3 separate regions of the Homo sapiens genome follow, and all the other regions are linked to region 1. Evidence: promoter capture Hi-C in 16 types of primary human blood cells and fetal thymus (Javierre and others, 2016). All regions are on one chromosome and are shown on one strand. The core of a region is centred on a gene start or on the middle of the fragment in contact, and the rest is flanking DNA. Distances in the headings are between cores, read along the strand shown.

The links. The method cuts DNA at HindIII sites, captures the fragments that hold promoters and counts their contacts. A CHiCAGO score of 5 or more calls a contact.
Region 2: a contact is called between a fragment that was not itself captured here and the fragment with the promoter of CWC22 in region 1, in 1 of 17 cell types (non-activated CD4 T cells). The highest score is 5.9, in non-activated CD4 T cells.
Region 3: a fragment that was not itself captured here is called in contact with the fragment with the promoter of CWC22 in region 1 in 1 of 17 cell types (total CD8 T cells); the score reaches 6.0 in total CD8 T cells.

What each region holds. Positions count from the first base shown.
Region 1 is chr2:180,005,902-180,008,601 of GRCh38, reverse strand. It overlaps CWC22 (CWC22 spliceosome associated protein), which reads left to right and starts at 1,305. Exons shown (of 20, transcript NM_020943.3): 1 at 1,305-1,735. RefSeq lists an enhancer at 1,625-2,157. The HindIII fragment of the contact is 3,569 bases long and covers 1-2,700 here.
Region 2 is chr2:186,479,687-186,482,386 of GRCh38, reverse strand. The region is part of intron 1 of LOC105373785 (a long non-coding RNA gene); the gene reads left to right. Among named protein-coding and RNA genes, the nearest start is that of ZC3H15, 5.2 kb to the left of the region's middle. The HindIII fragment of the contact is 1,180 bases long and covers 849-2,028 here.
Region 3 is chr2:189,444,539-189,447,238 of GRCh38, reverse strand. The region is part of intron 1 of WDR75 (WD repeat domain 75); the gene reads right to left. Among named protein-coding and RNA genes, the nearest start is that of WDR75, 4.4 kb to the right of the region's middle. The HindIII fragment of the contact is 172 bases long and covers 1,251-1,422 here.

The DNA.
Region 1 (2,700 bases), core at 56-2,555:
GATATAGGCTGGGAGGCTAGGCCAGTCTTGCCTTTTCATATTTTTCTGCCTGCTTTATATTCGATGGTAGCTGATTAGATTGTTCCCACCAGATTAAGGGTGAGTCTGTCTTCCCCAGTCCACTGACTCAACTGTTAATCTCCTTTGGCAACACCCTCACAGATACACCCAGGATCAATACTTTGCATCCTTCAATCCAATCAAGTTGACATTCAGAATTAACCATCACCGGTAGTATTGTGGGTTTTTAAATATATGAATACAAATGTTCATCTCCAGATCCATCTCCTGTGCCCTGTATTGGTGCACCAAAATGCACCATCAACAATGGCCAAATATCTTAAATATGAAATAAAATAGATAACACTATTGTATACTAGCAATTATCTTAAATGCATCTTGTGTATCAACTAATTCAATTCTTAAAACTACTGCCTGGATGGATACTATTGGTATTTCCATTTAACAGATCAGGAAACGGCCACAGAATGTGAAGTTACTTGCCCCAGTCATCCATAAATAATAAAAGGACTCAAGATTCAAAATAAGTAGTCCAACTGCAGTGTTTTTATTCTTAATCATCACACTCTGCCTCCAGAAAGGAGTGGAAGCACAGCACCCTAAAACTGTAATAGAGAAGTGTGTGGAGAAACCAGTCCTGGTTTATGAAAGATTTGATAACATAAAGATATTCTTGGTTTAGGAAGAGAGTTTCCAAAATAGCAAGTAGTTGAACTTTTAGGTTTTGTTACTAGTGAAAAGTGAAGTTTAAAGAAACTGTTTGATGCCCTAGTTCTGCACGCTGTACAAACTGCTACTTCCTACTCAGCCAGGCAATCTCTTTATTCTCAGGTCATACCAGTTGGTACCTTAACCTAAAAGAGAGGCAACACAGTCTCTATAGAATTAGTTTTTCCTCATTATTTCACTCTATTTATGATTTAATATTCTCCCATTCTTATGGCCTGGATATCTTGGAATTTATTAGGCACTTAACTGTTGGTCAAACTCTTATAAAGTCTCAGGAAAATCTCTCTCTTAAGATTTTTCAAGGAAAGTGACAACTGACTGCTTTTTTAAAAAAAATTTCCCCAAAATGCAGTGAAATAGTTTTAAAGTAAATTCGGCTAGACCCTGAACACTACTAGGCTGCCAGTGAGCAGCGTGGATGTTAACTCGCTGGCGCGCATCTGTATGAACTACAATTCCCATCGTACACCGCGCCATTTCACGCTAAACTACAATTATGCTTTCCTCATTTCCGTCAGCACAGGCGCTGGATTTCGGACTTTGTAGTTCATGCCAACTTCTCTTTTTTGTCGCCATTTTGGCAACAAGACAGTGTGCCTGGATCGACTACTTTGACTCTGGTATTATGATATGGTATTTGAAATAAATTAAAGGGATAACGTGTCAAGCCAATTGAGCGTCAAGTTTTTAAATATTTCACTATTCGCCTTCTTCCTACCGTCGGTGCTCGGGAAGAGGAAGTGACGTACGTCCGGTGTAATGGCGGCGCGGTGGAGCTCTAGGTAATTATCGAACTCCGTGGAGTCCCCGCAGGCAGAGACGCGGAGTGGGGGTGGCGGGTCGCCGGATCGGGTGGGAAGTAAAAGACCCCCAGGAGTGGGTGCGGGCTCACTGATACGGCTGTGAGCGGCATTGGAGTGTGCGTGGGTCTTCTCGCTACGCTCGGGCCCGCAAGAGGGGTGTGAGAGCGGCTAGGTCCAAGCAGGTGGGGAGGGAATGGGCTGCCATGAACTGACTGCCTGAGCGGACCGGCTGACCTTCCTTGTGAAGTTCCTGGAGCTGTCTGAAATCCTGCACCAACGCTGGTGCTGTGTTGTTTCTTGTGCACTGCGTTTTATACTTAGAGCCTCTGGAGTCCATTGGGGCTTGCCAAAGCCCCTTTCCTAGTGCCCGGGTCCCAGGGTCAGGGGAGTGGGATTAATGAGATCTAGTTGATTAAAAGTTAGTTGAATTACTTGCACTCTTATGCCTCTTGCCGGCATTATATCCCTTTGACTATTTGTTTTAAATTTCATTAGCGTCTTCTTTTTCATTTATTTGCCCTGTAAATACTGATAGTGTCTAGTGTTTAGTCTTGAAGACACTTCGCTTCTCATGTGCCCGCTTCATCTGTCATTCTTGATCCTTCCATAACTTGAACTATCTCCAGTGAGGTAATAACTGCCAAACTTGGGTCTCCAGGCTCCACCTCTCTAACGAGCTCTGGGTCCTACAACACAGCATTATATAACGGAAATATAATAGTTAATTTCACTGAGTTTAACTGCAAAAACCACGGTACCTATTTCCATTTAATCCTAACAATTCTTCTGAGGTAAGTGGAGAAGGCAGGATTTGGAGAAAGGCTATTCTAGATGCAAGAATTAGGTAAGAGTTTCCTTTGCATTTTTAGATGTGCAGAGACTCGAAATAGCAGATAAGCAAGCAAACTTGGTTCTCAGCAGATCAGTTAACCTACCTCTTATCTGTATTTAGACTTACCTTGTTTTAGGATTGCTTGTGAATTCAGGAGTTAACATAAATTATCATCCTACTATGGAAGGGCAGATTTAAAATTGACATTAAAAGTGTGGTTTTGACCAGGAGAGGAGAAGCATTGTTACAGGCGTTATCAGTAGGTGGAGGAAAGCCACTTGTGTTGGTCCTGGGTGATGGACTAGTAGACCAAAG
Region 2 (2,700 bases), core at 189-2,688, 6.5 Mb before region 1:
GCTACAATAGTTAATTTTCTTGTAATAAGCGTAAACATTTTTCATACATTTATATAGTCTTAGAAGACAAAATCAAAACCCTGTAAGGAATTTTTTTTTCTTCTCGGTAAGTTTGTAAACTGAGACATGATATTTTATTGTTTTCCCATAACGCATTGCATATTTTCTTAAATATAGGTGCTTAATAAATGTATATTTTAGTGGTTCTCAAATTATGCTCATATGAAAGAGTTCAGTAGGTTGGACTAAGATGATCTACTAAATTGAATGATGATGTATTTCTAATTAACAGAAAAATATTTTTTTTCAATTTTAAGCTTTTTTCCCTCATAGTCATTCTTAAAAAATTAGTAGATTGCTAGCATTTTTCACCTAGCAGATTAAAAAAAAAAAGAAACAGTAATGGATCAAATATTTCATGTGACTGGAAAACCTATATATTCAAAATAATGTGGGGACATTTATGTAAAATATGGTCTTATGTTACAGTCTTTTTGGTGAAATTAAATTTATTAATATATTTTAAATTTTTCCATATAACACCACAAGTTCCAGGTATTTGCTACCTGAAAACATTTCAGAACCACTGTTTTAATGGATTGAATACCATCTCACCTTATAGCTGGATTTAGTGTCATTTATCCTTGAATCCTAAAACCTTTGAAGTGGGAAAGTTGTTCCTAAAAGAACTATCAAATTAGATTCTTCTTATGAAAGCTAATTTTCCATTTCTCTTTTATGACACACTGTATAAAAGGTCATGTTTTATAGTCAAAATATGTGGGTTAAATTTCTTCCCTTCCACTTATATAGGTGACTTTAGGCAAATTGTTGGACACTGGTAAGCTTTACTCTTCTTATATATAAAAGAGGAATAATACTGTTCCTAGCTCATAGGGCTATTGGAAGGACGAAATGATATAATGCATGTCAGTCACTTATTAGAGTACTTGGCACATGTAAACACATAATTAGTGGATACTACTATATAATTCAGGTCATAGTGTAAAGAAGTAAGGAATTCAGCATTGATACATTAATTTCTAAATGAGCTTACTCCAGTAAATATGGAGAATATAAAATCAGGAGATTGGGTGACTGAATGTGGGAGCTGAGGGGAAGAAGTCAGAAAGTAGAAGAGGATCCAGGTGGCAAGCATGGGCAAGTGATCAATGTGGGTGCCAGGGAGGTTACATAGGCAATGATTGGAATGTGTGGCCAGGGCAAGAAATAACATATCCAGTTTTGGCTCTGCTGAATTTATGGTCCTAGTGCGTCATTTATGTGGCAAAATCCAATGGTATATATTTGACTTGTAAACTCAGAAGAGAGTTTAGAACATGGTGGCCAATGGGAATGGATTACTTTGAAAAAGATTGTAGAGAGCCAAAAAAGAATAAAAATGTGAGGAACAATGTTTAAAAGGTAAATACAGAAAAAGAAGTTTAGGGAGGAAAGTGAAAAGAGGCAACTGTGGCAGGGACCCTAGGGAGAAGAACTTTTTGGGTAGTAGAGTATCAACAGGGCCTGGTAATTTTGCCTTGAGTTGGCTTAAATACGGCTACTTACTCATTCCACATTAGGATGAATCATACTGGACATCCAATTTAAGACATGGCTATCTGAAACAAGTGTATATTTCCAACTCTATTGACCTATATTTCTTTTCTTACATATATGGATACTGCCATCTGCTGATAACTGGCATTTTTGAGGGGTCTTTTTTGTAATTATGACATTGTATTTAAGGTATCGTTTCCCTTGTTCCCTTTTTGGATATATTCTTCCCACAGGTCTCCACATGGCTGACTCATTTTCATCCTACAGATAGCAGCTCAGGTGGCAATTCTTCTAAACAGTTATCCCTGACCACTACATCTAAACAACTTCTACCCTCTGCTCCTAGTTAATATCTATGTCATCATGTGTTTCACTCCTTTAATTTTAGATTTATCTTAATTTGTAATTACTTTGTGTTTTTATGTCTTCATTTCTTACTTGGGTATCTCTTGTCCCAGAATATAAGCTTCATGGGAGCAGGAACCTTGGCTCCCATCAGGTGCCTAATGCAACCTGTCTCTTAGAAAGAGCTCAATAAATGTGCTTTTAAAAATGAGCGATGGTGGCCGGGTGCAGTGGCTCACGCCTGTAATCTCAGCACTTTGGGGGGCCAAATGTGAATCACTTGAGCCCAGGAGTTCGAGACTAGTTTGGCAACATGGCAATACCCCGTATCTACTAAAAACACAAAAATTAGCTGGGCGTGGTGGCACATGCCTGTAATCCCAGCTACTTGGAAGGCTGAGGCACGAGAGTAGCTTGAACCTAGGAGGGGGAGGTTGCAGTGAGCAGAGATTGTGCCACTGCACTCCAGCCTGCGCAAGGAGCGAGACTTGGTCTTGGAATAAAAAAAGATGATGAGCGAGAACTAGAGCTGGCTGAGAGTTCTTGCCCCATTTGTGCTATAAGAGTATATTTAGTTTTGGTATTTATCTTATCTTTTGAATATGAATTTAACAAAATCTTCTGTGCCAAGATGTTATGATCACCCTGATACATCTGGGGATTTTTCCAATAATAATGGTGATGTGCTATTTGTCCCTAAGTCCAAGATTACACAATAAAGGAACAAAATTAATAGATGGCACTTACAAGGATAAATGTCTTTAACTAGGTGTATGCATACATTTGTAGGTGCCT
Region 3 (2,700 bases), core at 87-2,586, 9.4 Mb before region 1:
GCAGAAATATAAATCTTCTTGTATCTTCCAAGTAAAAAGTATTTGCTCTGTGTCTATTATATTCATAGCAGTACTCTCTTATTTATGGTTTCACTTTCCCTGGTTTTAATTACCTACAGTCAAGATCAATCTGAAAATATTAAATGGAAAATTCCAGAAACAATTCATAAGTTTAAAATTGTATGCCATTCTCAGTAGTGAATTCCCTTGTCTCACCTGAGACATGAATCATTCCTTTTTCCAGCATTCTCTGCTGTAGACACACCTGCCCGTTAGTCACGTAGAAACTGTCTAGTTTATCCTATCCACTATTGCTGTACTGAAGTACTTATGTTCAAGTAACCCTTATTTTACTTAATAATGGCCCCAAAGTATAAGGGTAGTGATGCTGACATATTGTTATAATTGTTCTATTTTATTAGTTATTGATGTTAATCTCTGTGCCTGATTTATAACTTAAACTTTATCATAGGTATGTATGTATAGGAAAACATTTACTATATAGAGTGTCTGGTATTACCTGTGGTTCTAGGCATCCACTGAGGGTCCTGGAACATATCCTCTGTGGACAAGGGAGAGCTACTGTATTACAACACACTAAATTTGTTGCAAACTGGGACCACTACTATCCTATTTTATTAGTTCAAGACACTTGATTTTCACTTGTTCATCTCTTTGAAATTAGAATGCATCTTATAATCAATGGTCTCTTGTAAGTGCTGTCAGCCAGGAGGCATGGTTGTATGAAATGGTATAAGATCAAGAATGTATGAGCAACAAAGCATTTGCGATATATAACCTGCCCTTTGGCTGGAGCCTCTTCTCCATTCCCATGAGTACTTCAGTTCAGAAGCTTAACATCTCCAGCCTGGGCCACTCTTCAGGGCTTCCTACAGTCTCCAGGTACAGTCCTTCAATGCAGCTTTCACAGTCACACCAGACTAATTTTGCAAATTTGACCATATTACTTGCTCAGATAAAGCTAAAATCCTTCACTGTTTTCCCTCTGACTTTAGGAAATGATCTAAATTCTTAAGGCTTTGGTAGTCTGATCCCAGTCTAACTTGAACTACTTTTTCACTTAACACTGTGCTCTATTAAAATAGTTCATAACTCCAACAATTTCCCCCATCCCCCAGACACACCCTATCAATATGAAGAGGTCCTTTAGATATGGCTTCCTTGAGACAGTGGTGGGTAGGGGGCTACTGTTGGCCAAGAAAACTTTCCCTAATTGATTCTGATAAGCTTCCTCAGAAAAAAGGAATATCCTCTCTTCTTGTTTCTCAGCATAGAACAATGGCTTCAATTACTTAAACGCAACCCTTCAAAGTCAACTTTCTCTCCATGGTTTTGCACTCTCTGCTATCTACATAGAACACGTTTTCTAATTACTTCTTTTTTATTTCCTAAGAGTAAGCTTATTTTTTAACTTTTAATTTTGAAATAATTTTAGATTTACAGAAGAATTACAGAGTTCCTGCATACGCTTCACCTAGCTTCCACAAATGTTAGCACTTTACATAAGCACAGCATGTTAGTCAAAACTAAGATATTAACACTGGTACATGACTATTGACTACATAATTTATTTGGAGCTCTTCACTTTTTCCATTAATGTCTTTTTTATGTTCCTAGACCCCAGTCCAGCATACCACCTTAGTTGTCATATCTTCTCAGAACCTTCCAATCAGTGACAGTTTTTCAGTCTTTCCCATTTCTCAGAACTCTTGACTACTGCTTTAAGATTCAGCTCAGAATTTTCTCCCGGAAGCCCTTCCTCATCTTCTCATTCTAGATCAGCACCCGTCCTAATGTGCTTCTACACGACGGTGGGCTTAGCTCCATCACAGAACTTACCACAAGGCATTAAGACTGTCTGTGTACTATGTTTCTCCTCTACCAGACTGTGAGTCTTTGAGGTGAGACACTGTGTTTTCACTTATTAGAAACAATAATAAGTCAAACACAAATGGATTCGAATGTCAGCTTTATTATGTATTAGCTGAATGATGTTGGAGAATTTACTTAACCTCTTTAAACTTCACATCTCCACTTACAGTTAGCCACTGTAAAATGTAAATAACACGTTCTCATAGAGTTTAAGTGAAACATTGCATGCAAATACAAGCTTAGCATACACAGCAAGCACTCACTCAATAGGGATAATACCTTAACCTTGTAGACTGGAAGGTGTGTAATGCACCCACCACAACACCTGTCACATAGGATTCATCTTTGTTGAGAAAGTGAAGAAGTAAGAAATTAGGGATGTTTCAAGTCGGAACCAAGATTTAAACTAGACTCTGAAGGATGTATGATTTAAGGGGTGGGAAGAAAAAATAGCAACATAAGCAAGAGCAAGGAAATGGTATGATTATATACAAGACACAGATAATGTACTTATCTGACAAGCAAAGTGTCTATAATGGGTAGTATCAGGAAACAGTTGGGTAGGAAGAGTTGAGCTATATCAGAGAAGGGATTGAAAGCCATATAGAGGAGCTATAGTTAAGGAGGCAACAAAAAACTGTTAAAAAGTTCAGAGCAAGACTAGAAATAAGAGTTAGAGTAATAATGTTATAACAGTAACAACTTAGGAAAATTGTTACAGCAGCAATACTCAGAATGATCTGTAAGGGAAAAATACTGAGTTTGGGACATTAGCTTGTGGGCAATTTAGGAAAGTGAAAGGCAAGG